2 separate regions of the Homo sapiens genome follow, and region 1 is linked to region 2. The links are contacts of gene promoters, found by promoter capture Hi-C in blood cells and fetal thymus (Javierre and others, 2016). All regions are on one chromosome and are shown on one strand. The core of a region is centred on a gene start or on the middle of the fragment in contact, and the rest is flanking DNA. Distances in the headings are between cores, read along the strand shown. Region 1 holds the start of AZGP1 (alpha-2-glycoprotein 1, zinc-binding). Region 2 holds the start of TAF6 (TATA-box binding protein associated factor 6).

Region 1 (2,700 bases), core at 144-2,643, 140 kb after region 2:
GGAGTAATGCCTGCATCCATCCATTTAAATAGGTAAGGGGACACCCATTGTCTCAGCCTGTATGACTGCCATCCATCCTCTACATAATCTAACAAATAATTAAACTCTGAGCATGAGGTATTTTTGCTGGAGCAATCTTGCCAATAATGCCCTTTTGGAGCCCAATCAATAACAATACCTGCGGCTAGACTTTGGAGCACAACGGCCTTAGGAGCATTACAATTATTCCATAAAATTGAAGTCACTATAAAAGGTCCCTTTGTAGGTTTCTTTAACCAAAAGAGAGGCTGGGCACAGTTGCTCACACTAGTAAACCCAGCACTTTGGGAGACCGAGGCGGGCAGATCACGAGGTCAGGAGTTCAAAACCAGCTTGGCCAACATGGTGAAACCCCTGCCTCAGCTTCCTGAGTGCTGGGATTATAGGCATGTGCCACCACGCGCAGCTAATTCTTGTATTTTTTCAGTAGAGACGAGGTTTCATCATGTTGCCCAGGCTGGTCTCGAGTACCTGACCTCAACCTGAGGTGATCCAACCACCTCAGCCTCCCAAAGTGCTGGGATTACAAGCATGAGTCACCGCACCCGGGCCCCAGTCACTTTAGAATAGCATGTTGCTTTGTATTCGGAGGGTCTCTCTGCAAATAGCCCATCAACACTGAGCGTGCCTGGAAAGACCTGGTTTTCAAATAACTGGCTTCGTCTGTGTAAAACGAGTCTTGTTGTATGCATTAAAAATTATCTTGGCTGGGCGTGGTGGCTCACGCCTTTAATCCCAGCATTTTGGGAGGCTCGTTCTGTTGCCAGGGAGGCTGCAAAAGGAGGATGCGGCTATTTCTGCTTCCATCATGGAAGGCTGGGATTCCACAGGCACAGAAAGGAAGGAGGGAGAGATGGGAATGTGACTGTCCTCCAGACACAGCCTCTGGCAGGATCGGATGTGGGAGAGTGAGGGTCCCACCCCAGCTGGGGTCTACCCAGGTCCATGTCTTGGACATGTTGAGAGTTTTTCTGGAAGGCAGGGATACAGTGTGGTCCAAAAACACACAAATGCCCCTACTGGCCCAGGGGTTGTCACAATAGACTGGAAGGGTGACACATCCCAGGCGCTTGCCACCCATCACACGCACCTCCTACCCACTGGCATCCTTCCACCCCAGGCACACACAAAGCCTCAGTCCAGAGATCAACTCTGGACTCAGCTCTGAATTTGCATATCCTGTGTGTAGATTCATTCTTCATAACCTCTGCCCAGCCTAGCTTGTGTATCATTTTTTTTTCTCTATTAGGGGAGGAGCCCGTCCTGGCACTCCCATTGGCCTGTAGATTCACCTCCCCTGGGCAGGGCCCCAGGACCCAGGATAATATCTGTGCCTCCTGCCCAGAACCCTCCAAGCAGACACAATGGTAAGAATGGTGCCTGTCCTGCTGTCTCTGCTGCTGCTTCTGGGTCCTGCTGTCCCCCAGGAGAACCAAGATGGTGAGTGGGGAAAGCAAGGGATGGGTGCTGGAGAGGACTGGAAGGAGGTGAGGAACAGGACATGTGGCTGGGAGACAGGCTGGATGCAGCTGGGATACCCTGGCATACGGCAGGAATGGGTGCCCAAGGCTGTCAACTCCCTCAGCTCACACACTTCCAGGAGCATTCAGGGAGCCTCTGCGCTGGCCCGAAATAAGACCTTCAGGAATCTGAATCTAAAACCCCTAGTTTACAGTGAAAACAAAGACTCCAAAGACCAAGCGACCTGCTTGGGGTAGACAGTCAGGACGGAGTAGGAACCATATGCCTGGAGCTGCTTCTGCTCCTGTTCCTTCCCTCCTTCCGATGGCTGGGTACACCTGCCTGACGCTGAGGGAAAGAGAGAGCAGCCCCAAGGGGAAAGTGGGAAGGCAGGTTGGCTGGAGGGATGGTGCTAGAAGGAAACCCGTGCCCAAATCCCACACTCAGACACCACTGCAGTGGGTCTGGAAGGCGAGTGGCTGGAAGAGAAGAGAGTGGGAGCTCCGGGAGATCAAGAGTCACTCCTAGGATAAGGGAAGGAGGCTGTTTGTGGCATGAGAATGTGCAGGATAAAGACATGGAAGCGAATGGCTTCTCAGTTGTGTGAGTTTAAAATTCATGACATTTACAAATTGTCAGAAAAGGTGTTATATGTTTGTTATATAACAATCACTTTGGAATGTTAATCTGATTCTGTGCCAAAATCTGAATTACTCAGGGTTCTCCAGAGAAACAGAACTAATAGGTGGTACACATATACATATATATGTACGTACACATACATACATACACTGTATACACATGGATACACACACACATAGGAAGAGATTTACATATATGTATACAAAAGAGAGAGAGAGTAGAGATTTATTTTAAGAAATTGACTCACACTATTGGGAGGAGTAACAAGTCCTAAATCTTCAGAGCCGGCCAGCAGGCTGGAGACCCAGGGAAGAGTTGATGTCTTAGTCTTGATTCCAAGGGCAGACTGTAGGCAGAATTCTTTCCTCTTTAGGGGACATCTGAGGCTTTTTCTCTTAAGGCCTTCAACTGATTGGATGAAGCCCACCACTATGGAGAGTAATCCACTTTACTCAAGGTCTACTGATTTTTTTGTAAATTAAAAAAAAAACTGTGGGTGCATAGTATGTGTATATATTTATGGGGTACATGAGAGGTTTTGATTCAGGCATGCAATGT
Region 2 (2,700 bases), core at 156-2,655:
ACTGTGCCCAGGCCCGTTGGCTGTATTCTGATAGAAGGCCTGCAGAGGTGTTAAAGCAAGGACTGATACAATTAGGTGATTAAGTCTGTTTAAAAAGATTGACAGGTCAGGGGAGAAGAGCGGCACACGGAGGTGAAAGGAGACAGAGATGAGGACCAAGTCATGAGACTGTCATGACTGCCTTTCATGATACTGGAATACAGTTGAGGGGGTGAAGCGAAGAGAAAAGGAATCCAGGGAAGAAACGTAAAGTCAGGAGGGCAGCAAACTAGGGCATCAGGGCCAGCCCCCTTTCTCAACTGGGCCCCACGCTAGTGCAGCTATGGAAGGCGCTGCTTGCTGAAAAATCCATATAGTACGCACCGTCTGCAAAGTCTCACCGGATGGGGACACTCTCCTAGTTGTGTGGCTTCCTTTTGTTTATGAGCTTCAAAGGCTGAATTACTCACCCTCAAACCCCCTCAGCGGGGTGTGGGGCCTGTAATTTGGGAGCGTCTATGCTAGGGTAGGGCAGCGGATGTCCACAAGGCCTGAGCCTCACACCCGGCTCCTGCAGCCTCTGCAGATTAAGGTCTGGTGACATGAGGTAAACACTCACTGAAGATGCTCTAAAAGTTGGCAGTCCCGGGCCGATGGTCCCTGAACTACAATTCCCACAATCCATTGGCGGGCGGGGGGTTCCAAGCCAGCCAAAAAAATGCAGGCTCTCTCTGGATGCAGTTTGAGGTGGCACTACACGTTCGCTTCCTTGACCCCATCCAAATTCAGCCAAGCTCCACCAGAACCTCCCTCAAGCCTTCAAGGAGGTCGGGTGACCCACCCAATACAGGCTAGGATGTCCGGCCTAGAAGAAGGAGGTGTGGCCGGGCGATGCCTATAGGGGCTACCCCCTTCAAATACCTTCGCATTTGCTGGGCAAGCGTTCTGTGTCATCGTCCTCCTCCTTCAACATCCCAGCCCAAGCCTCGTGCACGGCCAAAAAAAGGAAAAGCAATATTCCCAACCGCACAGGTCCCATGACAAAGCGCCGTCTACAAACAATCACCGCTTGCCTTCAACTTCGGGAAGGTAGTGTGGGTCCCTTAAATTCCCAGGCGGCTAGCGGCAACCTTAAATCCAGCCGAGGAAGGTCGGCGCATGCGCAGGATCAGCCCAACAAGGGTGGGGCCTCGTTGCTACGGGTTTCCCTGCCTCCGTTTTGTGGCGCCTCTTGAAGGTCCTGGCAGCCGGGTAGTGAAGGAATAAATTGCAGTAATTACACCAAGAGGGAGTGCTCCTTATATATAGATGTAGAAACAAACTTTTAAAATATAATTTCATTCTGCGAGCCTAGAGGACTTATTCTGGTACGGGGAAGGGGCAGTGACTTGCTCTTAGGCTCTGCCAGGACCTGCTCCCACGAGGGGGCGGGGCCAAGATGGCGCCGAGCGCCGGGTGAGCAGCGTCTCGGCTGCCGCTAGAGTTTTCCTGCTCCCCGCGCTCGGGTGGCGGGGGCGGGTCTGAGTGGTACCCCGGAGGAGACCCTTTGAAGGTCCCTTGTGGGGACTGGAAAGAGGACGGTTGGTTGTGTGTCTGTGCTCGTGGGGACCCCGTGTGTGTGCCTGCATTGGAGAGATGTTGCAGGAGATGGGGTGGGCTCTCTGAACCTCCTTTCGCGCTGCCCGGGGATCTTCGACCTGCTTCTCTGCTGGGATCTCGCTTAAGTTAACCCTTCCCTGGGACGCCTTCCTGCCGCCTCCACTGATCTGAGGAGATCCTGTGACTGTAGCGTGTTTTATGAGCCTTTACTGGCAGAGGGTACCGCCGGGTATTGAAGGATTCGTAGGAGTTCGCCAGGGAAGTGGGACACGACCCCCTCTTGTAAACCCGGCGCCAGGCACAGAGTATGTCTCGAATAGTTGTGTTCCCTATAGATAAGACTTATAAAAGTCGGGGAGGAGATCAGGGATGGTTTGAAAAGAACCAATTTGTTTTTCGGCCTCCCTCTTCCCATCCTTCCAGCACGGCCCCACCCTACCTGTACTACTCCTAAGCAGTATTGATATGTTAATCTTCCTAATGTCCAACTGCAAGTGTGCCACTTTAATTTTTTTTTGTTTTTTTTTTGAGACAGGGTTTCCGTCTGTTACCCAGGCTGTTGTGCAGTGGCACCATCTTGGCTCACTGCAGCCTCCAACTCCTCAGTTCAAGCGATCCTCCTGCCTCAGCCTCCTAAGTAGCTGGGATGACAGGTTCACACCACCAGGTCCGTCTAATTTTTTAATTTTTGCAGAAATGGGGGTCTCACTATGTTGACCAGGCTGTCTCAAACTCCTGGCCTCAAACAATCCCCCCACCTCTGCCTTCCAAAGTGCTGGGATTACTGGGGTGAGTTACCTCTCTTGGCTCCAATTTGCTTTTTTTTTTTTTTTGAGATGGAGTCTCTCTCTATCGCCCAGGCTGGAGTGCAGTGGCACGATCTCGGTTCACTGCAACCTCCGCTTCCTGGTTCAAGCGGTTCTCCCACCTCAGCCTCCCAGATAGCTGGGACTACAGGCGCCCGCCACCATGTCTGGTTAATTTTTGTGTTTTTACAAAAAGACAGGGTTTCACCATGTTGGCCAGGGTGGTCTCGAACTCCTAACCTCAGGTGATCTTCCCGCCTTGGCCTCCCAAATTACAGGCGTGAGCCACTGCACCTGGCTCCACTTTGCTTTTTTT

What was found. The method cuts DNA at HindIII sites, captures the fragments that hold promoters and counts their contacts. A CHiCAGO score of 5 or more calls a contact.
Region 1: the fragment with the promoter of AZGP1 here is called in contact with the fragment with the promoter of TAF6 in region 2 in 1 of 17 cell types (neutrophils); the score reaches 9.8 in neutrophils.

The regions. Positions count from the first base shown.
Region 1 is chr7:99,974,724-99,977,423 of GRCh38, reverse strand. It overlaps AZGP1 (alpha-2-glycoprotein 1, zinc-binding), which reads left to right and starts at 1,393. Exons shown (of 4, transcript NM_001185.4): 1 at 1,393-1,479. The coding sequence starts at 1,404. The HindIII fragment of the contact is 13,516 bases long and covers 1-2,700 here.
Region 2 is chr7:100,118,063-100,120,762 of GRCh38, reverse strand. TAF6 (TATA-box binding protein associated factor 6) reads left to right here and starts at 1,405. Exons shown (of 15, transcript NM_139315.3): 1 at 1,405-1,559. It overlaps CNPY4 (canopy FGF signaling regulator 4), which reads right to left and starts at 1,129. Exons shown (of 6, transcript NM_152755.2): 1 at 901-1,129. The coding sequence starts at 1,018. RefSeq lists enhancers at 433-502, 873-1,092, 1,303-1,452. The HindIII fragment of the contact is 7,272 bases long and covers 1-2,700 here.